Linked DNA regions of Homo sapiens: all the other regions are linked to region 1. Evidence: promoter capture Hi-C in human tissues and cell types (Jung and others, 2019). All regions are on one chromosome and are shown on one strand. The core of a region is centred on a gene start or on the middle of the fragment in contact, and the rest is flanking DNA. Distances in the headings are between cores, read along the strand shown.

Region 1 (3,542 bases), core at 747-3,246:
CAGGAAGGACCTGCCTCCATAATTCAATCACCTCCCACCTGGTTCCTCCCACAACACATGGGAATGGTGAGTTACAATTCAAGATGAGATTTGGGTGGGGACACAGCCAAACCATATCAATACTGTAGTACATCTACATTATGGAATACCACTCAGTAATAAAAAGGAAGGAACTACTGATACATGTAACAGTTTGGATATATCTCAAGGGATTATGCTGAATGAAAAAGAGTCAATAAAAGTTACATACTGTATAATTACAATAATTACATTTATGTAACATTCTTGATATAACAAAATTTTAGAAACAGAGAATAGATTGGGTGGGGCTGCAAAGGTAAGTTGTGGTTATAAAAGGGCAACTGGAGGGACCCTTGTGGTGATGGACCTGGGCTGTACCTTGACTGTGGTGGTGGATACAAGAATCTACACACCTGATAACCATATAGAACTAAATATACACAGAGAACACTAATACAAAATGAGGAATCTGAATGAGATCAATGGATTGTGTGAATGTCAATTACCTGGTTGTGATATGGTACTAGTTTTGCAAGATGCTACCACTGGGAAGACTGGGTAAAGGGTACACAGAATCTCTATTCTTACAATTGCATGGAAATCCACAATTACCTCACAAAGTTGAATAACCATCTCTTTTTTTCATCTGTGATGGAACAAGCAGGCAATATTCTACATTGTTTTAACAAATAAAGCAAACTATGTACCACTGTTCTGGTGGTAAAACCCTTTAACCATAATAAATGTCATCACGTAGCAAATGCTTCACTGTGCTAAACACCTGCTGACCTTATCTCGTGTAATCCGCTCAACGGCCCTAAGACTAGGGAGACACTGCTATCATTCCTAGTTCACTGAGGAGGGTCTGAGGCAAAGAGGTGAAGTGATTTCCTGGAGCTACCTGACCAAAGACTGGAACCAAGATTCTTAGAGGCACACGAAGTCCTTCTGGTAATAAATCTGTATAATTCTATTTGTTATGTTCAGCTGTCCTAACCCTAAAAATTAAAAACTGCCATCAAGCATACAGAATGAGTGTTAGCAACACCGGCACAGTGACAATTTTAAAGAGTTAGAAGGTCCTTTAGAGATTACACAGCCCATCGCCCTCATTTTTACATAAAGGGAATCAGGTGAAGTGACCTGCACAGGTGAGTCGCTGCTCAGAGACCGCACAGCACATTTAAAACTGTATCTCGGTTCAGTACTCAAGAAAAGGACACAGACTTATAAATGGTGGCAAAAACCGAGCTGTCTGGTTCTTCCGGTACCCAGTGCCGGGTCGAGTACAGAGCAGGCGCTCCATATTTACAAGACGAATCAATGACTGAATGAATAGCACCGCCAGGAGCCCCATAAAAGAAGTCCAGAAGACTGCGGGCTGTCAGTCTTCGCTGTGACAAAGAGCCTCCGTGAGGAGCGAGGATTAGGGCCGGACAGGGAGCGCCCTTCTAGTGGACGCTCGACTGGGCTGGGGCCGGGATGGAGACGGTGGGTGCCCAGGCCCTCCGTCTACCGCGGGCCGCGTGCGGGGCCGAGCGAGGACCCGGCTGGAGCTGGAGCGGGGGCGGGGCGGGGGCGGGGCCGAGGGCGAGCCGGAAGAAAGAAGCCGCAGGGCCCGCCCAAACAAGAATTTTCACCGTAATCCCGCCCAGAGTTTCTCCCACGGCCCCATGTCCGCATGGCGGTGAAGGTCGAAGACGCGCGACCCAAAGGGCCAGGTTTTCAGTCAGCCCAGCGTTGGCGACGGGCGAGGGCAGAACACAACCACCACCCTAGTCCCGCCCGGCTCGGGGCCTAGCTTCTCTACTCACAGCGTCGGAGGGAGGGAGGGAGGGAGCGAGCCAGCGTCCCCGCGTCTGCGGCACCCTGGCCGGCCCTTCGCCCTCCGACGCGCGCGCCTATTGGCCACCGCAGCCTCTCCCACATGGGGCGAAGGCGCGCCACTTCATTGGCCCCCGCGTGAGGGGCGGGGCTAAAGAGCGCGGGTCCTCGGCCGTGGAGGGTCAAGTGGCTTCTTCTGAGCGCTGAGGGAGGGGAGCGTGCGTAGGGGATGGTGCCAGCGCTGCGTTATTTGGTTGGTGCCTGCGGACGGGCCCGCGGGCTTTTCGCCGGTGGCTCCCCTGGGGCGTGCGGGTTCGCGTCTGGGAGGCCAAGACCGCTGTGTGGAGGTAGCCGCAGCGCCAGCACCAGGTGAGTGGCCGCTGGTCCTCCCCGCCGCCTGCGCTGCTGCCCCTCGCGGAGGCACCTGGTGGTGGACCTGTGCCCCTGTTCGTATTTCCCTGTCCCGGGGTGAGAGCAGGTTGGGGTCCTGTGGCACTCCAACCTCGGATCCCAGGAGCTACCAACCTGCAGGTTCATTCGTTGTATTTACGGGCCGGAGGAAAGGCAGTGTATAGAGTAGAGGTCGGGAGTAGCTCTGGCTTTGAACAACCCGTCCACTTTCTGTTGAACTCTGGGCTAGTTACTTAACCTCCTTAAAGGCTCAGTTGTGAATTGGACCTTAGTCTCTCCTGTAGGTGGTCATTTGAAGGATAAAAGGACCTAGCACACAGTATAAGCAATCAAATATGCTCTTTATAAGCTGGAGTCTTTGGCGTTGCTTGGAAGATCTGAATACAGTCTTAAATCAGTTCCTGGCACACCCCGCATAGTGTTGCCCCCGTCGGAGGCAGCTCTTATGCTAATGAAAGCCCGCAGAATTCAGTGTCCTGTGATTTATAGTTTGGACGTCACATTCGAAACCATTGTCTTTCTCTGTCCTCTGTAGAAGAAACAGTTTGTGTGAAGGCTGTAAGGCTTGGAGAGGTTTTGGCTATTTTGACGACTAGAAGGTGGGCCATATGAGTGTGACTGAAGTTTAGTGGAAGACATATGGTGTGGAATGACCCAGAAGGACTACATCACAGCAAGGTTTTTAGTTTATTTTAACCACACGTTGACTTTTATTCTAAGAGCCACGGGAAGCTATTTAAAAGGGTTTTAAGAAGAGGCTACGCTTTAGGAGGCCGAGGCGGGCGGATCGCCTGAGGTCAGAAGTTGGAGACCAGCCTAACCAACATGGTGAAACCCCGTCTCTACTAAAAATACAAAAAAATTAGCCTGGCGTGGTGGTGGGCGCCTGTAATCCCAACTACTCCGGAGCCTTAGGAGAATCGCTTGAACCTGGGAGGCGGAGATTGCAGTAAGCTGAGATCGCACCATTGCACTCCAGCCTGGGCGACAGAGCAAGACTCTGTCTCGCAAAAAAAAAAAAAAAAAAAAAAAGAAAAGAAAAGAAAAAAAGAAGAGGCTAATAATTAAATGTTGATGTTCTAAAAGTTGACTCTGGCTGCTGCGTGTTGGTGGATAGGGGGAGTAGAGTGGGATACCAGTAATAGCGATTGTGATTTGTTATGGGGCATGTGGACAGTTCTTTTGGGAAGCTTTTCTTAAGGAAAGAAAAGTAGGGCTAGTGAAAGTTTTGTTTATACTTAAAATGTTTTTTTAAAAAATTTTTGGAGTCAGGGTCTCACTGTGTT
Region 2 (3,542 bases), core at 280-2,779, 500 kb after region 1:
AAAAAATAGAGAAAATGAACAAAACCCAAGTTGGTTCTTTGAAAAGATAAACAAAATTGATAAACCCTTGGCTAGACTGACCAAGAAAATAGAGGACTCAAATCCCTAAAATCAGGAATGAAATAGGGAACATTACTTCCGACTTTACAGATATTGAAAGGATTATAAGGGAATACCATGAACAATTATATACCAACAGATTATGTAACCTAGATGAAATGGACAAATTCCTAGAAAGATATAAATACTAAAACTGACTCAAGAAGAAATAGAGAATTGAAATAAACCTGTAAGTACAGAGATTGGATTAATAATAAAGAAAAACATTAAAAAAATACTCATCAAAGAAAACCCTAGGCCAGATGGCTTCACTGGTGAATTATAAAGAAGGTTGAATGCCAGTTCTTCACAAACTCTTCCAAAAAATAGGATCAGTGGGAACACTTCCTAACCCATTCTACAAGGCCAGTATTACAAAACCAAAGATAACACAAGAAAACTACAGACCAATACCGGTTATAAATATAGACAAAAATCTTTGACAAAATATTAGCAAACTGAATCTAGCAGCATATTAAAATGACTATATACGATGACAAAGCGTAATTTATCTCAGGAATGAAAGCTTGGTTCAGTATATGGAAATTAATGTAATATAATCTACTAATAAAGGACAAAAAACACACATGGATTATCTCAACTTATGAAGAAAAACCATTTGACAAAATTCAACATTTGTTTGTGATAAAAACACTCAGCAAACTAGGAATAGAAGGGATATTCCTCAACTTGGTAAACAAGCATTTATGAAAAACCGACAGCTAACAATCATACTTAATGCTGAAAGATTGGGTACCTTCCTCCTCCCATCAGTAATAAGACAAATATGTCTGTTCTTGCCATTTCTATTTAACATTATACTGGTGGTTCTATATAGGTCATTAGGCAATAAAAAGAAAAAAAAATCCAAATTAGGCAAAAGTAAAGCTACCTATGTTTACAGTTGATATGGTCACACACATTTAAAAAACCTAAAGAATCTACCAGTAATTATCAGAGCTAATAAACAAGTTCAGCAATGTCCAGGATATGAGATCAGTAAACAAAAATCAGTTGTATTTCTGTACACTACCAGTGAACAATCTGAAAAGGAAATTAATAAAACAATTCAATTTATAATTAGCATTAAAAAGAATAAAATACTTAGGAATCAATTTACCAAAAGACTTACAACGCTTATAGATAACAAACTATAAAATTATTTTAAGGAATTAAAGACCTAAATTGGACATCCCATGTATATGTATTGGAAGTCTTAATATTGTTCTGATAGCAGTACTCCCCAGTAATCTAGGAATTCACTGTAATCCCTCTCAAAATTGCAGCTGCTTTTTTTGTTTTGTTTTGAAACAGGGTCTCCTGTCACCCAGGCTGTAATAAAGTGGTGCGATTGGCTCACTGCAGCCTTGAACTTTCAGGCTGAAGCGATCCTCCCATCTCAACCTCCTGAGTAGTTGGGACCATAGACATTTGCCACTGTGCCCAACTTATTTTTGTGTTTTTTGTAGAGATGAGGTTTTGCCATGTTGTCCAGACTAGTGTCGAGCTCCTGAGCTCGAGCAGTCCATCCACTTTGACCTCCTAAAGTACTGGGATTACAGGCATGAGCCACTGCCCCTGGCCCTGCATTTTATTTTATTTTATTTTTTCAGAGATGGAGAAGCTGATTCTAAAATTCATGTGGTAATGCAAGGAGACTCAGATTAGCGAAAGCAGTATTGAAAATGAAGAGCAAATTTTGAAGGACTCATGTTTCCTGATTTTAAAGCTTTCTACAGAGTAACAGTAATCAGGACACTGGTACTGGCATGAGGATGGACAAATAGATCAAGGGATAGAATCGAGATTCCAGAAATAAACCTGTAGTTTATGGTCAGTTAATTTTCAGCAGGGGTGCCAAGACCAATGGGGATAGAATTTCCTCTTTCTTTTTTTCTTTTTTTAATTTTTTGTTTTTGGTTTTTTGAGATGGAGTCTTGCACTGTCACCCAGGCTGGAGTGCAGTGGTGTGATCTCGGCTCATGCAAGCTCTGCCTCCTGGGTTCACACCATTCTCCTGCCTCAGCCTCCCGAGTAGCTGGGACTACAGGCGCCCTCCACCACGCCCGGCTAATTTTTTGTATTTTTAGTAGAGACGAGTTTTCACCGTGTTAGCCAGGATGGTCTTGATCTCTTGACCTTGTGATCCGCCCGCCTCAGCCTCCCAAAGTGCTGGGATTACAGGCACGAGCCACCGCACCCGGCCTCTTTTTTTAAATAGACATTTTTTTCGACCAGTTTTAGGTTCACAACAAAATTGAGCAGAATGTATAGTGATTTCCCTCATACCCCCTGCTGCATGCATGCGTAGCCTCCCCTATTATCGATATCCCCCACCAGAACGGTACATTTGTTACAACTAATGAACCTACATTGACACATCATTATGGCCCAGAGTCCATAGTTTGCATTAGAGTTCACTCTCTTTTTTTGAGACAGAGTCTCGCTCTGTTGCCCAGCCTGGAGTGCAGTTGCGTAATCTCAGCTTACTGCAACGTCTGCCTCCCAGGTTCAAGCGATTCTCCTGCCTCAGCCTCCAGAGTAGCTGGAATTAACAGGCACGTGCCACCACACCCAGCTAGTTTTTGTATTTTTAGAAGAAACAGGGTTTTACTATGTTGGCCAGGCTGGTCTCGAACTCCTGACAAGTGTTCTGCCCACCTCAGCCTCCCAAAGTGCTGGGATTACAGGCATGAGTCACCAAGCCCAGCCAGGGTTCACTCTTGATGTATATAGTCTTTGAGTTTGGACAAATGTGTAAAACATGTATCTGCCATTGTATTATCATACAGATTTAGTTTGGTTGTGCTAAAAAAGTCCTCTGTGCCCTGCCTGTTCATCCCTCCCTTCCCCCAACCCCCGACAACCACTGATCTTTAAAGGCTGGCTTCTTCACTTAGTAGTATGCTTTTACCTTTCCTCCATGTCTCTTCATGGCTTGATAGCTCATTTCTTTTTATCCCTGAATAATATTCAGTTGTCTGGATGAACCACAGTTTATCCATTAATCTACTGAATTTGGTTGCCCCCATGTTTTGGCAATATGAATAAAGCTACTATAAACATCTGTGCAGGTTTTTGTACAGATATAAGTTTTCAGTTCATTTTGGTAAATACCAAACATCAATATTGTTGAATCACATGGTAAGAGTATTTTTAGTTTTGTAAGAAACCACCAGACTGTCTATTCTAAAGTGGCTGTACCCTTTTACATCACCACCAGCAATGGGAGTTCCTGTTGTTCCACTGCCACCAGAATTTAGTGTTGTCAGTGTTTTGGATTTTGGCCATTATCATTGATGCATAGTGTATTTCAATGTTGTTGTAATTTGCATTTCCTTGGTGACATATGATGCAGAGCATCTTTTCATATGCTTATTAGATATTCATATGTATATCTTCGATGCAGTATCTGTTAAAAGTCTTTGGCCCATTTGTTAATT
Region 3 (3,542 bases), core at 782-3,281, 440 kb after region 1:
AGAAAAGAATATCCCTACAGCTAACATACTTAATGGTAAAAAACTGAATGCTCTCTCACTAAGATCAGAACAAGGGAAGATGTTCAACCTCACTGGTCTCGTTCAACATGGTGCTCAAAGTTCTAGCCATGCATTAGGGCTAGAAAGTGAAATATTAATAAAAGGCATATAGATTGGGAAGGAAAAAATAAAACTTTTGCTACTTATAGAAGACGTTATTTCCTACATATAAAATCCCAAGAAATCTGAAAACACAAACCTCCCACAATAATTAACTGTATTTCAGCCAGGCATGGTGACTCACGCCTATATCCCAGCACTTTGAGAGGCCGAGGTGGGTGGATCATGAGGTCAGGCATTCGAGACCAGCCTGGCCAACATAGTGAAACCCTGTCTCTACTAAAAATACAAAAAATTAGCCGGGTCTGGTGGCAGGCACCTGTAATCCCAGCTACTCAGGAGGCTGAGGCAGGAGAATCACTTGAACCTGGGAGGCCGAGGTTGCAGTGAGCCGATATTGTACCACTGCACTCCAGCCTGGGGGACAGAGTGAGACTACGTCTCAAAAAAACAAATAATAATAATAATAATCAACTGTATTTTATATACTGGCAATAAACACATGGACACTAAAATTTTAAATACAATATTTGTATTCACTCAAAAAATTGAAATATACAGAATGTATATATCAAAAACTACAAAACACAAAAGAAATAAAATAATATCCAAACATATGGGAAGATACATTATGTTCATGGATTGGAAGATTCAGCATGGTAAAAAAATGTCAATTTCCTCCAGGTTTAGTGCAATTCCTATCAGAATCCTAGCAAGATTTATTTTGTAGATATAGACAAGATTATTCTAAAATTTATATGGAAATGCAAAGGAACTAAAATAGCTAAAACAATTTTCAAAAAGAAAAGTGGGACGAATCAGTCTACCCAATTTTAATATTTATCACATAGCTAGTAATCAAGACTTTGTCATCTTGATGGAGGGATAAGCAGATCAGTGACACACAACAGAGAACCCAGAAATGAACCCACACAGATATGCCCAACTGTTAAAATGTATGTAACATAAAATTTGCCATTTTAACCAATTTCTTTTTTCTTTTTTGTTTTTCTTTCTTTTCTTTTCTTTTTTTCTTTTTTCTTTTTTTTTTTTGAGACGGAGTCTTGCTCTGTCGCCCAGGCTGGAGTGCATTGGCATGATCTCAGCTCTCTGCAAGCTCCGCCTCCCGGGTTCATGCCATTCTCCTGCCTCAGCCTCCCAAGTAACTGGGACTACAGGTACCCACCACCAGGCCTGGCTAATTTTTTGTATTTTTAGTAGAGACAGGGTTGTTTCACCATGTTAGCCAGGATGGTCTCTATCTTCTGACCTTGTGATCCGCCCGCTTCGGCCTCCCAAAGTGCTGGCATTACAGGCGTGAGCCACCTCGCCCGGCCAACCATTTCAAGTGTATAATTCAGGAGCATCAATTACGCTCACAATATTGTACATCCATCACTACTATTTCCAAAACTTTTTCAACACCTCAAACAGAAATTCTATACCCATTAAGTAATAACTCCAGCCTGGGAAACATGGTGAAACACCATCTCTATAAAAAAAAAATGCAAAAAGTAGCCAGGTGTGGTGGTGCACACCTGTAGCCCCAGCTACCTTGGAGGCTGGAGGTGGGAGGATCACCTGAGCCAGGGGAGTTCAATGCTGCAGTGAGCCACTTCCCTCCAGCCTGGGTGACAGAGTAGGACCCTGTCTCAAAAAAATGAAAAGTAAGATAAGATAAAAATTCCTAATTCCCTACCCTAATTCCCAACCTCTGTCTACTTTCTATCTCTACATATTTGCCTATTCTACAGATTTCACACAAATGGATTTATTTGTCCTTCAGTGTCTGGCTTATTTCACTTTACATGTTTTCAAGGCTCATTTATGTTGTAGCATGCGTCAGAACCTTATTCCTTTTTATGGCTGAATATGAATATGCATCACATTTTGTTTACTTATTCATCTGTTGATGGACAGTTGAGTTGTTTCCACCTTTTGACTATTGTGAATAGTGCTGTGACAAACATTAATGCGAGTATCTCTTTGAGTACCTGCTTTTGGTTCTTTGTGGGGTCTGTACCTAGGAGTGGAATCACTCAATCATATGGTGATTGTATGTTTACATTTTTGAGGAACTGTCAAACTGTTTTTCACAGCAGCTGCACTATTTTACATTCCCGCTGGCAATGTATGAGAGTTCTAATTTCTCCACATCCTTGCCAACACTTGTTATTCTTTTCTTTGTTGTTTTTGTTTGTTTCATTGTTTTCAGATGAGGTCTTGCTATGTTGCCCAGGCCGGCCTGGAACTCCTCGGCTCAACAGATCCTCCCATCTCAGCCTCCTGAGTAGCTGGGACTACAGACATGCACCACCTGCCCAGTTCAACACTTGTTATTTTCTGTTTTGCTGTTGTTATTTTCGTGATCCTAGTAGGTAAGAAATTGTATCTCTTGTGGTTTTGATTGCATTTCCCCAATGACTAATGATGTAGAGTTAATGAATGAATGAATGAATGCACAAAGGGACCTACTATTTTAATAAATCTTATGCTCAAAAGGGGATAAATCACTCTTCTAGTTTATATTATTATTATAATGTACAAGAACATTAATATTTGTTTTTATAATGATAAATCATAATAGCATTTGTATATAATGGTTTTGATTATACAAATACTCTTGTAATATGCAATATTGTTTATCCATACATCACAGTGACTATAGACTGTCTCTTTTAACAATATTCTAACTAATGTGTAGTGGTTTTGCCTTTATTTGTTTCTTGCCACACCCTAGGCTATACTCCCCCTTGGAAAATGAGCTGTGTCACAAAATGAATTAGAACCTTGTCAGCAAGGGGTTTCAGCTGAACAGACACAGGCAGCTTGTGCCTTCAGTATTCTCTGTATAAATTGGACTGCTTTTCCAGTTCATTAGCCCTAAAAGCAAACACTGAGAAAAGTGTGAATTCCTTTGGTCATAAAATATACATATAGGCCGGGCGCGGTGGCTCACACGTGTAATCCCAGCACTTTGAAAGGCCTAGGCGGATGGATCACCTGAGGTTGGGAGTTCGAGACTAGCCTGACCAACATGGAGAAACCCTGTCTCTACTAAAAATACAAAAAAAAAAAAAAAAATTAGCTGGGTGTGGTGGTACATGCCTGTAATCCCACCTACTTAGGAGGCTGAGGCAGAAGAATCACTTGAACCCAGGAGGTGGAGGTTGAGTTGAGCCAAGATCACACCACTGCACTCCAGCCTGGGCAAAAAGAGTGAAACTCTATCTCAAAAAAGAAATGTATCATACACATAAACTGCCTGGTCACGGTGCCTCACGCCTGTAATCCCAGCACTTTGGGAGGCCGAGGCAGGCGGTTCACTTCAGGTTAGGAGTTTGAGACCAGCCTGGCCAACATAGCGAAACCCCGTCTCTACTGACAAAAAAAAAAAAAAAAATTAGCCAGGCGTAGTGGTG
Region 4 (3,542 bases), core at 365-2,864, 420 kb before region 1:
TTTAAGCCTAAAACTTTTAAGAAAGCCTACTTATTAAGCATATTCTCTGCTAAGCGAAATAGCTTTTCTCATTTCTGTATTCCTCGGGCCCATATGCTGTCCTGTTTCCAAGTTTCAGTGGGTCTGGGGTTATTAATGAATTAATAGTCTTCATTACTCACTGCCTGACACCATAAAGGGCAGCTCTGGGATTGAAGGGACTCAGCTGAACAGGGCTTTGCCCTTGTCCTTCAGATGCAGCACCTGAGGTCCACTGCGACGCCTAGCCCGTCCCCTCATGCTTGGGATTTGCAGCTGCTCCAGCAGCAAGCCTGTCCGATGGTGCCCAGGGAGCAGTTTCTGCAGCTTCAACGCCAGCTGCTGCAGGCAGAAAGGATAAACCAGCACCTGCAGGAGGAACTTGAAAACAGGACCTCCGAAACCAACACACCACAGGTATGAAGCTCTCTCTACTCTAGTAGATCACCTGTTAATTTTACCTGTTTATTTGAAAGTTATACCAGTTCAAAGGTGGAGAGAAAGAACCTAAATCTAATGGCACACACCTGTAGTCCCAGCTACTTGGGAGGCTGAGACGGGAGGATCGCTTGAGGCCAGAGGTTCAAGGCTGCAGTGAGCTACGATCATGTGTGTGAATAGCCACTGTACTCCAGCCTGGGCATCATAGCAAGACTCCATCTCTTAAATTAAAAAAAAAAAAAACAAAATCACAATCCTAAATCTTCTTTCAGAGAGATATTTAACCTGTATGACAAATCCATAGAACTGCGGTGCTACTTTTGAGCTCTCAGCTTCTAAGCTGAGTCATTTAGTGTTCTGTAATAGACGATTTGCCCATTTGTAATAAACGATGAAGTATCAGGATCACTTAAACACAGCGCACAATTGGCCTGATGTTCCCATCCCATGCCAAAAATATTACAGAATTTAAATGTTGCTAGGATATGCGCTACTAACAAAGTACACTGAGCTTTCCTGTGCCAGAGCCGTGCAGCCTGCTGCATCCCATGAAAATCACAAGTGATGACTTTTCACAACAAATAGAGTGTATAGTCAGTGACATCTTTCTAGTTGACATAGTTCATAAAACTATTTAAGAAAATAAAAATCTTTTCATTGTTTGCATTAGCATGATCCCAGCTCACCACCACATCCAATCTTATATTACTTAGGTTTTCAAGTATTCAGAGTTATTTCTCTTTAATGCTTCATTCATCATCCTTTCTCAGAAGTTTAACTCTTGCAGCTTGCCTATTTAGTTAATTCAGAACTAGGAATAAAATAAAAAGTCCTTCTTTGTGGAATTCTACATTAATCCTTTCTGGTTTGCATGCGCTTGTGTGTTCAGATACCTTGCCACTCAGTTAATGCTTGACAAGGAATTTCCTATCTCTTATTTGAATCCCCTCAAAGTGGCTTTGCAGTCACATTAGCTCTGGAACTCTACATAGGAACAGTTCTGTTTCTTCTACTATCCATCTATGTTTAATTACGAAGTACTCCTACCACTTGTCAGTTCTAATAAACTTTTCCCTCTACATATGTACCTATGCTGTATTTCTAATAAACTTTAGAAGGTTTTTGTTTTATGAGCTTTAAAATCTGTTTTTGGAAGCTTTATACATACCTCTTCAACTTCCCAGTATTAAAGTTCTTAAATTGTGATGGTAGAGTGTTAGATGCTTTAACTCTCCAGTATATAATTGAACTACAAAACTTTGATCTCAGTTTTTAGTGGACCTTCTAACCAAATGATCCGCCAAGATTCTTCTCATTGCTCTCTTACACCCTATTTTCAAAGCCTGCTGTTTCCAACCCACCCACCAATGTTAAAAAAAATATCCTTTTCCTCCAATTCCTTCAGGATTAGACAAAAACTAAGATTTTTGAAAGAAAAAAAAAATCCTCCAACCAGATGACAGAGTGGACGGCTTATTACTCTCACCAGAATGCTACTGCAGGCTCTCCCATTTCCCGCTGCTGAGCTGACACTAATTTTAAGAATGCAGAATATTGTTAAATCTGCACGTTTCTGTGTGTGGAGTGATGTGATCTCTTCTGCATTTTGTGTTGCTTTGCTTGCCTATGTAGTGTTAATGTGTGTGCTTTTAAAAATTGTTTGCATTGTAGATGTGTGAATTTAGACTCCCCCTAAAAACTCATCCTGACATGAGGGTGAAGTGTACTACTTGCCTTCTTTCTCTAGGCCTTGCTACCGGAGCAGCGAGCAGTGCACGCAGATTCCTACAGAAGGATTGGGCACCTGTGAAAACTGGGCTGCTATTGATGGCATTTCTTACCATGGCAGACAGATGCACACACCCACCCATGCACACACACCACACACAGAGACATAAGCTAAGATATGTTGGAATTAAGTGCTCTTTTAAATTATTTTATTATTTTTACTGTTAAACCTTTGCAGTATTATGTCTCTTATTTATTTATGTAGAAATGACAGATCTTGTGAATCAAATTCACAAACATCAGCTTGTTACAAATCATTTTATTTATACCCTTTAAAGAGTGTGGATTTAAGATTCTTGAAAGGATGTAGTCTATATATTTTCTCATTCCATATGTTGTAACTATTTTTAACCAAAGGTACTACTTTTATATATGGAATTTGAAGAAAACCAGGGGTATTTATACTGTTTTGTATAAGATGTACAAATCTTTTTGACAGGAAATTTTTGATGAAACAATAAAATAAATTTTAAGTATATGACTGCCTTTGTTTTTCCTGTTTTTCCACTCTTTTGCCAACTCTATGTTCTTTGAATTATCTTTTTTTTTGTTTTGCTTTGTTGGGCAAATAGACATCATTTTGTATTTATGTTTGAACTTTAAAAAGCTATTATTTTTTTTTAAATATAGGCCTTTTTAAAAGCTAGATGTCCTCCAGGCCCAATTTTTTGTAACTTACTTCCTGCATTAGACCTTTGCCTATTACAATTTTTATCCTCCGGATAGTTACTACATGATTTAGGGTTTCTTTTATGATTAAGTGTTACTACTTAGTATCTAAACAGATGGTAGCCTTTGACTCATGTTTAGTCATTCTGCATGTCTTTTAAAGTATATCTTAACTACCATCAGCTGTTAATACCTTTATGAAATCTGAAATTCCTTATGGGGACATTTTGGTGGACTGCAGAGGGATGGGGGTTGCATTCTAATAAGTCAATTGCATTCTAATCTCTCTAGGTCTCTCTCCTCTCCAAAACTCACTTACTCCTTAACCCATCACCGTTGTGTGAGAACAGGAGATTTTTCATTTTCAATCTGCTCTGATAGTAAACCCATCCTCCAATCCAGATGTGTGCTTCACATTTACAAGTGGGAAACAGATGACTAGAAAAATTGGCAGGAAGAGGCTATTATGAAGAAAGAAACTTACCACCCTCACAGTCATCAGCCACTTCAAAGGAAAAACAGACATGCATATTGCAAGCTGATTGGTTATGTTAGGAAACCCTGAATATATTCAGTGCTTGTTTTGTTGTTGAGAGGCCCATAACATTGCAGAGACCCAGATCACA
Region 5 (3,542 bases), core at 755-3,254, 360 kb before region 1:
CGCCTTCATACCCTGATGTGTAACAAAACCCCATTGTGCTCTCACTTAAGTTTCATCACTCTTTCTTCTCCCTGCACACTATCAACGCTTTAGGACTCGTCCTTATTTCTGAACCACAGGAACAAGTAACTGTTTTTCTAATGTTTCTCTCAGAGTACACTCTGCTTCTAGTGAGTTCCAATTCTGTTTATTAAGATTTTCATACCCATGGCAGTGATTGATACTCCCACACTCCATATTCAATGTCAGCAAATTTGGTTGGCTTTCTTTAAAATATGTCTAAAATATGTCCACTTACCTCTCCACCTATTATTGCCTGGGTCCAAGCCAGCAATAACTTCTGACTGATCTCCCTTTTGCCCTTAGCTCCATTGTCTACTCTCCACACAGCATCCAAAGCAGTCCTATGAAAACATTAACTCAGATCATGTCACTCCTCTGCTCAAAGTAACATTCCTTACAATGGCCTACAAAGCCCTAGGTGCCGTGGCTATTGTTACTCTCTAACTGCATTCCCCATTCGTCTCCCCGTCTTTTCCAGTACATAAACCCTCTTACTGTTCCTCCAATCTGCCAGGAACATGGCCACTTGCAGCGACTTTGCACTTGCTGTTCTTTCTGCCTGGAATATTGTTCCTCCAGTTAGCTGCATGGCCAATTTCCTCACTCTGTCACTTAACTCCAATGTCACCTCCTCATGAGCCTTCTCTGGTCCCTCTATTACCCTCTCAAAAATTGTGAGTCCTCTCTTATTTTCACTTCATCACTTATCACTATCTAACATAGTATGTTTTGCTTATTTTTTGTCATTTTTTTCTCTTTCCCATGACAGTAGGGATTTTTGTCTGTTTTGCTTATTGCTCTATCACAAACGACTAGCGCAGTGGGTAATGAGTATTTCCTGGTTAATGAATGAATTGTGGGAGATCTGCACCAAGGGAACATATGGAGACAGACACTAGATCAAATGTCTCCTTTGTTTGCTCATGGTAAAACATTTGACCATCTTCTTAATCTTACGTGGTAAAAAATTCCATGTCTTTTGTTAATTGTGATATATGTCTTAGATCTCTTGTGAGATGTTTTAGATCTCAGGGAAAGCATTCCTCATTATTAAAGCATTAATTTGGTCACTAGGGGATGAATCCAATCTTATTTTCCAAATGTTATCCTGTACATTTGGCAGTCTTGCTAAGTTATATAGAAGGAAGTAGAGTCTATTATTTTAGATAGAAAATTCCCGGTCCCGACTCGCAGTGGTCAAAGTCTTCAAAATTCTAAGATCATAACACATAACGTCAGGAGGAAATATGTGGCTATTAATCATACTAATGATAGTGATGATGCAATAAAATAATTGTAATATGCTAACACCAATTGTATCTTAAAAAGAGGTACTGGAAATTCCATCTTGCATTCTTCCGTTTTTTCCTGTTATAGAAAAACGCACTCCCTGATACTCAGTAGAGGATCAACTTATTTCTAGTTAATCAGCATGAACGTTTCCAGCAGAATAGATGCTTTGGTGTAGCACTTGCCTGGGAGTCATGGTTAGCATTCCGCATTTTTTAGAGAGCTGAATTCAGCAGCCTAGGAAACATTAGGAAGAACACCTTCAAACAGGGAACAACGTCTTGGGGGGAAAGAGAGTCACTGCCTCCGCTAGGGATCCCGAGGGGGTACAAAAGCAACAACAATAAAAACTCGTGGAGAGTAGGTTCCACGACATGCGCATGCGACGAACTCCCGCACTCAGCGGGGCAGGTTTCGTCCTTCATCTTCTCAGTCGGCAGGACCTGCTTCTCGCTGAGGATGAGTGAGGACAGCCGCAGCTCGGCGGGGACGGCCCGGTAGCCTAGAGCGCCGGCACCCGAGTCCCGCCGCCGGAGCCGCGCCTGGAGCCGCGGTGGGGGAGGGGCAGCGGCGGCCCGCGCTGCGTCGAGCTTCCCAGAATTCCCAGCGGCCGCGGGGAAAGTTTACGGGATGTAGGCGGCGGCGGCGGTAGTGGTAGCGGTTATTCGGCGGCCCGCGGCGGACCATGGCCCTGGCCCTGGCCCGGCGTCGCTGGGCTTTCCTCACGGCGTCCCCGAGCAGCGTCGCAGAGCGGGCCGACTTCCGGGAAGGAACTGACCAGCGACTGAGCGGCGGCCGGCGCGCTTAGCGCCCTGAACATGCGGCAGTCCCTGCGGGCGACCCCGGGCTCCGGACAGGCGGCGGCGGAGGCGGCGGCTCGGGAGGGAAGGAGGCGGCGGCGCCGGCGGAGGTGGCGGCGGAGACGGCCGGCGCCCGGCGCGGAGCCCTAGGGAGGCAGTTCAGCGCGGCCTCGGGCCTCGTCGAGAAGGATGCTGTCCCGAAAGAAAACCAAAAACGAAGTGTCCAAGCCGGCCGAGGTGCAGGGGAAGTACGTGAAGAAGGAGACGTCGCCTCTGCTTCGGAGTGAGTGTCAGGCGGGGCGTGCCCACACCTGGCCCAGGCGGCCAGGTGCTCCGGGGACCCTGGCGGGGGCGCCGGCGGGTCTCCAGGGCTTCTCCTTCGTCCTTGGTCGCGTGAAATACTGGTTTTGAGATTTTCTTGTGTCTGAAGTGGTATTCGTTGATTGAAAGCCCATAAGAGTAAGAAACTTGGGTTAGTCCCCCCCGCGCCTAACCCCCCCAAGAGCACCCCCTAAAAATAACAGACTTCCTCGCCCCACCAGGCAGAGTTGTTGGTTTTGATTACTGGAAGAGAGAGTAGGAAACATTTAAATTGCTTATCACCTAATGCTATAGGAGTAAAAGTAATTAGACAGGGACACTTTTTACTCTTTTAGATGCGTCGAGATGTGCGTCATGTTTGCAAACATTGCGGGTGTCTCTCGACTGTGCTGCAAGTTGTGCGAACTCTGGGGCAGAATTCCTTAGTCCTGCTGCCGGATGCAGACTTGAGAAGGTGAAAAGCATACCGTCGTTCTTGTAGCCGCCACCCAAAGCCTCATCACTCTTACACAGCAGAGCAGAGAGCCAAAAGCCTTTGTATTTGGCTATATTCGTGAGATTCCAAGAAGGCAACTCAAAATAATTTCTATCGTATTAGAGAACCCCCCCCTCGAAAAGTTTTTTTTTTTAATAGGGTAGATCCCACTCCCAATCCCCACCTCCGGTCCCCCGCTGCTTTTCTTCTTAATGTAAGTATTTGATTTTTGAGTTGAATCTCTTGAATTTTTAATTCTTGTGTGTTCAGGACATTTGTGAGGCATGGAGCTGGTATTTTGGTGCTCTTACTGCGCCCTGGGCCCTTTGCTTAAGTTTCCTTCTTGGAAGCTGGTAGTAACCTTGTGACTTAAGTATTACCTCATATTGTAATTGGGAAAGTTAGGTTTCTAGTATTTGCCCAAGATCACACAGATGGGAGAGCATGTTTTTCCATCATAACCACATTGTCAGCCTTCCAGATTTATGGTGGTACTTGCAATACTTTCAACAAAATATATGTCAGTTGAGTACATCAGTAACTCGAAACTTGATTTTTAAGTTGTTTTTTTTTTTTTTTAACAACTTGATTTT
Region 6 (3,542 bases), core at 749-3,248, 320 kb after region 1:
AGGCTGTTATACAGTGGCAGAGAAAGTAGATTCCTAAGGCTTTAGAGAGCCAGAGCCTTCCTTCTCCCTCCAACAAAGGATGTCACCAAGTGTAAGATGGATTTGGTCTCTTAAGATGTAAGGACCTCCTTTGGGGTTCTGCCTATTTGGGGGCAGAATATTAGAGCACACCCAGACCAGTCCTGCAGCCAGGACTCTACCCAGACTATAGCCTGAAGGTGCAATTTGCTTGGTCTGAGGAATTTTTTTTAATGATTTGGGTTTTTTTAAATAGAGATGGGGTTTTGCTATGTTGCCCAGGCTGGTCTTGAACTCCTGGTTTTAAGTGATCCTCTCATCTCAGCCTCCCAGTGTTGGGATTACAGGCATGAGCCACCATGCCCGGCCTAAGGAATTGTAAAAATTAAATGTGTCATCATTTTGAAACTGGGAAAATTCATGTAAAATTGAGATTCCTGATTTCTTCCAAGAATCACAAGTTTCACCGTGTTTGGCAACACTAGATTGTGGTCCTACCCAACAGTAGTGGGCAAGAGCACATGGTGGGTGAGCACACAGCACCCCCTCCTCTGCTCACTGCACCCCAACACTCACCCATGCAGCCCCACCCCACTTGCTTGGAGTGTCCTGCAGGCGAGGGGCCACAGTGTCACTCCCACCACAGAGTCCCACTCTCCTGTTCTCTCTGCCACTCAGAGGACGTCTAGACCTGTGTTTCCTGGACAGAAGTCAGCCCTGGGAGCCGCAGTTTATGCCTTCCTTCGCCCCCACACAAATGCAAAAGCCTCCTCCCCATTTACTAAGCCAAAGAATGTCAGGATTGAATGTTTTGAAAGAAGAGTTAAAGACAGCTTTAGCCCTGGCGTTCCATAGCTCCTTATTAACACAGAGACTTTTCATAACTCTGAGACAGCTGGAGACACATTTCTGTGAATTCAAAACTCCTGTGAAGGACGCTGGCCTCAAGGGTGCAGGGGAGGCTGGTCAGGTTTCCTAATCTGCTCTTGGACTCAGGGCAGGTGCAGCTGGTGTTCTAGACCACAGCACAATGGCAAGAAGGCCCCTCTGGAGCAAGTCAGGGTCCAGGCGCTACTGGCCCCAGGTGAGCCCAAGATGCAGGCTTCAATGCCAAATTAACCAAGAAACAGACAGGACCCAGGGCCCGAGCACACAGACAGCCTGGTACATGCGGAATCACACACTGATTTGCTCATGGGAGCTGACTGTGAGGGCTGACATCGCCTTTGGACTGAATTGTGTGGAATGTGCTGAAAGAGGCTTTGGAGTCAGAAAATGTTAGAGCCTAGCAAGACACTCTAGAAAGCATCTGCTCCCAGGGTCCCCAACAGTGACTGCTCTTGATAATCATGTAAACATTTCCAAAGTACAGATTCCAGCCAGGCGTGGTGGCTCACACCTGTAATCCCAGCTACTTGGGACGCTGAGGTGGGAGAATCAATTGAACCTAGGAGGCGGAGGTTGCAGTGAGTCAAGATTGTGCCACTGCACTCCAGCCTGGGTGACAGAGTGAGACTCTGTCTCAAAAAACAAACAAAAAACAACATACAGATTCCTAGGCTCCAGCTACCCCTGCCCCAGCACACACACACGCACACATGCACATATGCACACACATAGATTCTCATGAGCAGCCAGGTTTGGGAACCATTGGTGTAGCCCAAACCCTTCCATTCAGTTTCTCAAGTACAGTACTATGTTCAGTGACATTTCCAAGGCCACATCGCTGGTTTCGCAGGACTGGGATTACAGGACAAGTTTCTTGACTACAACCCAGGGCTTTTTCCACAACACACTATCTATCTCCTGGATGTACCATAAAGGAGGCTGCCGATGTACCCCAGAGATTTTTGGATGTGGAGAGAGGGTAAGAAGCATAGCCTTTGTGCTTGTAAAGTAAACCAAGGTAATTTTCCCCAATATTGGCCTCAGTCTCAAGTCTCTCTGGGCAAGAGATTCTGCCTCTAGCTCTACAATTAGTACAGTTTCCCTTGTTTTTTGAGAGGGGATGAAAAGTACTGTACATGTGTGTGGAGACTTCTCTGTGCCTCAGTTTACCTCTATTTATTTATTTATTTATTTTGAGACGGAGTCTCGCTCTGTCACCCAGGCTGGAGTGCAGTGGCGCGATCTCGGCTCACTGCAAGCTCCGCCTCCCGGGTTCACACCATTCTCCTGCCTCAGCCTCCTGAGTAGCTGGGACTACAGGCACCCACCAGTACGCCCACCTAATTTTTTTGTATTTTTAGTAGAGACGGGGTTTCACCGTATTAGCCAGGATGGTCTCGATCTCCTGACCTCATGATCCGCCCATCTTGGCCTCCCAAAGTACTGGGATTACAGGCGTGAGCCACCACGCCCAGCCAGTTTACCTCTACTTAAAATGGAGAGAGTGCCCAGCACCCTTCTACCTTCTCCCTTGGGGCTCTGCAGATTGACCGCACAAAGATTGACCACACAGATTGATTGACCTGTGAAACCCCAAGGCAGAAAAAGAAGCTTTCTGTGCCCACACAGAGGTGTTCTTAAAGTCAGGGTTGCTCTTGGCACACATATTAATAATCCTGATGTCTAGGTACCATTGCAGATCCTTTGGTTCCCCTCTACCCGTTCCAGGAAAGACTGCCTGTCTTCTCCGAGTTTCTTGAGGGCTGATGAAATATTTCCTGAATGTGATCTCAGAAGGAATCCCAGTTTTGAGGGACCAAACAAGATTTTTTAAAAATTAAATACTACTACTAAATAGCTGGTATTGAGTTAATCCTAAGTGCCAGGCATTATGCAAAACACTTTACATGCATTATGGCATTTAATCCTCACTACAACCCTAGTGAAATAAATATCAATATAATTAAAAGTATAAATATAAATGAAGTGTTATAATAGTCTCATTTTACAGATGTGGAAAATGAGGCTCAGAAAAGTTCACGTGCCCAAGATCACACAGCTGCTAAATGACAGAGCCACGATTCAATTCACATAGTCATCTCTAGAGGCAAAGCTCTGGTAAAGGGCTTGATGACTGGTCACTGTCGTCACGAACTTGACCTTTCCTGCAGCACTGCCTGGTACTTTCCCAGTACAGTGTTCTGCCCTGACACAGCCAAGGCCAAGGGCAGTGCAGGCACAGCCACCGTGACTCTCTGCTGGGAGGTTAACAGCTCCATCAGTTCAGGGACTGCCTGACCCAGCCTGACCAAATTAGAGCAAGTAATGGGTGTGACATAATTTGACATGTACATTGTTAATTGAACCCAATGGGAGATGATTTTAAATAGAGGCGAATACCACGCTGTGAACTATTTGGGTTATGAAGCTCTTATTCTCTTATCCTTGCAGGAGAAAGAATTGTGCCATGAAAAATGGAAAACTCCTGAGAAGCTGTTCCAGCGTCAGGAGAGCAGCAGACAAGCTGGACTGGGGAAGATTCTTCCTGTAAGTTTCAGAGATTTCACTCTCATTTCCTAGCATCTTACCCCCAAATCCTCTCCAAGCCCAAATCAAGAACCACAGACTCTAGTCAT
Region 7 (3,542 bases), core at 611-3,110, 310 kb before region 1:
TAGCTTTCTTGATATTATAAGTTAGCTTGCTTGATTTTACATGTATGCTTTGTATGTAGCCCATTCATATAACCAGTTCAAGTTTTGTTTTTGCTTTTTTGTTTGTTTGTTTTGAAATGAAGTCTTGCTCTGTCGCCCAGGCTGGAGTGCAGTGGTGCAATCTCAGCTCACTGCAACCTCTGCCTCCTGGGTTCAAGCAATTCTCCTGCCTCAGCCTCCTGAGTAGCTGGGACTACAGGCACACACCACTATGCCCAGCTAATTTTTGTATTTTTAGTAGAGGAGGGGTTTCACCATGTTGGCCAGGATGGTCTTGATCTCTTGACCTCATGATCCTCCCGCCTCGGCCTCCCAAGGTGCTGGGATTACAGGCATGAGCCACCGTGCCCAGCCATAACCAGTTCATGTTTTAAGTCTTGTTTGTGGTTTTATATATATAGGCTCATAAATGGGGAAGAGACCAGATTTTTACTGGCTTATTATAATGCATTCCCTCCAGAAAATGTATCCAAAAATTGCTCCGTGCATAGCGTGCCCACCTTCTAAGAACTGTACAAAACTGGGTAAGCTGTGGTAACTGGACTGCAGAGTTCAAAAAGATAGTGACAATGATGCTACCTCTAGTGGTGGAACTCAGCAACACAAAATAAAATAGCAAGAAAAGGCCACTTAAGCAGATGAGAGGTAGTATGAGTATGTAGTTGTCATGTTTGATATAATTGATTACACATAACCCAAGCTGTAGCAGTAGGTTAAAGCTTAACATTACAGACTTAGCAAAGTAATATAGAAAACAGATCACGAGAGAAGTCTTCTGAACACAGGGACAATTTCTTAAATTGTTATTTCAAATATATGGAAAAATTGGGGCCGGGTGCAGTGGCTCCCACCTGTAATCCCGGCACTTTGGGAGGCCGAGGCAGGTGGATCATTTGAGGTCAGGAGTCTGAGACCAGCCTGGCCAACGTGGTGAAATCCTGTCTGTATTAAGATATAAAAATTAGCTGTACACGGCTGGGTGCAGTGGCTTACGCCTGTAATCCCAGCACTTTGGGAGGCTGAGGCGGGTGGATCATGAGGTCAGGAGATCGACACCATCCTGGCTAACACGGTGAAACCCCACCTCTACTAAAAATAAAAATAAAAAAAATTAGCCAGGCGTGGGTGGCATATGCCTGTAGTCCCAGCTACTCTGGAGGCTGAGGCAGGGGAATCGCTTGAACCCGGGAGGCAGAGGTTGCAGTGAGCTGAGATCACGCCACTGCACTCCAGCTTGGGCGACAGAGGGAGACTCCGTCTCAAAATAAAAAAAATTAGCTGTACATTGTGGCACATGCCTGTAGTCCCAGCTACTCGGAAGGCTGAGGCAGGAGAATCGCTTGAACCTAGGAAGCGGAGGTTGCAGTGAGCCAAGATTGTGCCACTGCACTCCAGCCTGTGCGACAGAGCAAGACCCTGTCTCAAAGAAAGAAAAAAAAATATATATATATATACACACACACACACACACATACATTATATATATATGGAAAAATACACATACTATGTAAAAAAGCAAGATCTGTCCAGTGACTTGCTTGATTTCTAAGTAAATTCAGTAACTGCCTGTAATTTTTAAAAATCTAAATTTTAGCAGAGTTAGAGTTTTCAGGCTTTGGGGTTGGTGATTTTGAAGGCCTTAAAGATTCAAAACTTAAGACTGTGTTTGCATTTTCCCCTTTATTATAGCCCCAGTTATAACATTGGGGCTACATTGAAATACTATTTTATGTTAGAATTTGTTTTCTTTACTTCTTTTATAACACACACAAGCATGATGCTGGATATCTTTCCAAGTTATTTTGTTTCATGTTTTGTGCCACTTTGAAATTCTAGTGACCGTGATTTACAGGTACTTGCAGTGGAGTTTATTCACTTATTTTGCTGTTTGCATTGTACCAATTTTCACTGATAATTTTGCTTTGTACTATATATAGATTTATTATTGTGGTTTGCTTTTTAGTTACTAGTATTCACTGGACTACAATACTGATATTTGTATTTATGTTACCACGTTCCTGTTTTGTGTTTTATTGCCTGCCATGTATCTGTATTCACTGACACTAATAGGTTTCTTTTTTGCTATATGATTTTACGTTTTTTCATCTTTAGTAGAATATTACTATACACCTAGAATGTATGAATTCTTCAGTTTCTGAATAAAACAAAGTTTTCTTCTTATAAAACCACTTTAAAATCACTTTCAGAACTTGTATATAAATTTCTGCCCCCAAACATTCCTTATACAATTGGAATGGAATAAGATACGACTGTGTGTTAATGCACCAGCAAGTGTGGTAATTAATTATCATTAAAGTAACCAGCATCTAACCATACATTTGGATTAAAAATGTGTCTGAAGATGGCAGTAGCCCTCTTTGTTCTCATTGGAACCAATGCTAGGTATTCCAATTTTGGATTCAGAAAATAAGAACAATATATTCATAACATACGTAGGTGGTGAGCTCTTGCTAATGTTAGTTGAACACAGTAAAGACATGAACCAGAAAATCTGCAAACCAGTTCAAATCGATTTGCCGAGGGGCATTAATAAGCTTTGGCCTTGCAAGTGGTCAATTAATATATATGAATAGCTGATTCAGAATTATGTTCAGTAATTTTCTTCAGTAATTTTTTCCACAAGGGCAAAATCTTCCAAGGACTTTAGGGGCTTGGTCAAAGTGGTGGTTACCTGACACAATAATTGAGAATACGATGTATGCTTTATAAGAACTCCACAGGGCAGATGCACTAGTATAGTATTGCTGTATAAATTAACAAAGGAAGATATTTTCTCAGGATTTCCTGATTCTGATAAGTGATTGGAAACACGCATTTGACTATGCATTCTCAAGTCTAACTGCAGCTGCTAAGGAAGCAGCTCCACATCTTATAATGTGGCTACCTGCTCATTCTACATATGGTACTATAACGCAGAGCAACCTCAAAAGAAAAAAAAGGATAACTCCTTGTTATTTAAAAAATTGTATCTGCTGTGCTAGGGTAGGTATTCAGTAAGCACCCAATAAAAGCTGGTTGAATGAAGCATAAATGAATGTGATTCAGTACCTTTAATCTTTTTCATTTCCTTTTGGGAAGTTCTTAAATTAACAGTAGTTAAATTTAATCATATTATTATCAGTTTTTAATAACACTAGAAATAGGTAAGACAATAATAATTGCAATACTTTGAGGGACCATGAACAAATAGTTATTATAACAATGGTTACTATTGATAATGAGCTAGAAAGTTATTTCTGTGTGTGAAAGAGTATATGAGAAACTATTATCAAAGAACAACTTTTGCATAATTGTTTATTCGGAGACTTTTCTTCACTAGAGGCAACCAGTGAGATGCCAGCCCTCTGGAGAACATCACAGTCAGCTGACAAGACATCCTGGATAGAAATCACACCAAATTGTAAGATTCAGCGTGGGACAGAAAAATAATGTAGATAGCAGACTTTCAAAACTGCCCAAAGAAACACGGAGGCAAAGTACGA

What was found. The method cuts DNA at HindIII sites, captures the fragments that hold promoters and counts their contacts. A contact is called where the count stands out against the background at its distance.
Region 2: a fragment that was not itself captured here is called in contact with the fragment with the promoter of L2HGDH in region 1 in 2 of the 25 tissues and cell types used here (H1 embryonic stem cells and aorta).
Region 3: a contact is called between a fragment that was not itself captured here and the fragment with the promoter of L2HGDH in region 1, in 2 of the 25 tissues and cell types used here (H1 embryonic stem cells and lymphoblastoid cells).
Region 4: a fragment that was not itself captured here is called in contact with the fragment with the promoter of L2HGDH in region 1 in 1 of the 25 tissues and cell types used here (aorta).
Region 5: a contact is called between the fragment with the promoter of SAV1 here and the fragment with the promoter of L2HGDH in region 1, in 1 of the 25 tissues and cell types used here (heart right ventricle).
Region 6: a contact is called between a fragment that was not itself captured here and the fragment with the promoter of L2HGDH in region 1, in 1 of the 25 tissues and cell types used here (pancreas).
Region 7: a fragment that was not itself captured here is called in contact with the fragment with the promoter of L2HGDH in region 1 in 1 of the 25 tissues and cell types used here (hippocampus).

What each region holds. Positions count from the first base shown.
Region 1 is chr14:50,310,683-50,314,224 of GRCh38, reverse strand. It overlaps L2HGDH (L-2-hydroxyglutarate dehydrogenase), which reads left to right and starts at 1,996. Exons shown (of 10, transcript NM_024884.3): 1 at 1,996-2,214. The coding sequence starts at 2,075. DMAC2L (distal membrane arm assembly component 2 like) reads right to left here and starts at 1,901. Exons shown (of 6, transcript NM_001382507.1): 1 at 1,836-1,901. RefSeq lists silencers at 1,517-1,746, 1,807-1,936. The HindIII fragment of the contact is 14,916 bases long and covers 1-3,542 here.
Region 2 is chr14:49,808,850-49,812,391 of GRCh38, reverse strand. All of the region lies in intron 18 of NEMF (nuclear export mediator factor), which reads left to right. Among named protein-coding and RNA genes, the nearest start is that of NEMF, 42 kb to the left of the region's middle. The HindIII fragment of the contact is 4,499 bases long and covers 1-3,542 here.
Region 3 is chr14:49,870,517-49,874,058 of GRCh38, reverse strand. No RefSeq gene overlaps it. Among named protein-coding and RNA genes, the nearest start is that of NEMF, 20 kb to the right of the region's middle. The HindIII fragment of the contact is 9,165 bases long and covers 1-3,542 here.
Region 4 is chr14:50,726,416-50,729,957 of GRCh38, reverse strand. It overlaps NIN (ninein), which reads left to right. Exons shown (of 31, transcript NM_020921.4): 29 at 235-435. Among named protein-coding and RNA genes, the nearest start is that of SAV1, 60 kb to the right of the region's middle. The HindIII fragment of the contact is 9,275 bases long and covers 1-3,542 here.
Region 5 is chr14:50,666,768-50,670,309 of GRCh38, reverse strand. SAV1 (salvador family WW domain containing protein 1) reads left to right here and starts at 2,004. Exons shown (of 5, transcript NM_021818.4): 1 at 2,004-2,436. The coding sequence starts at 2,343. RefSeq lists silencers at 1,767-2,336, 2,447-2,576 and an enhancer at 2,937-3,006. The HindIII fragment of the contact is 8,992 bases long and covers 1,448-3,542 here.
Region 6 is chr14:49,992,689-49,996,230 of GRCh38, reverse strand. LINC01588 (long intergenic non-protein coding RNA 1588) reads left to right here. Exons shown (of 4, transcript NR_126498.1): 2 at 3,358-3,453. Among named protein-coding and RNA genes, the nearest start is that of LINC01588, 13 kb to the left of the region's middle. The HindIII fragment of the contact is 5,718 bases long and covers 1-3,542 here.
Region 7 is chr14:50,616,829-50,620,370 of GRCh38, reverse strand. All of the region lies in intron 8 of ATL1 (atlastin GTPase 1), which reads right to left. Among named protein-coding and RNA genes, the nearest start is that of SAV1, 50 kb to the left of the region's middle. The HindIII fragment of the contact is 3,466 bases long and covers 128-3,542 here.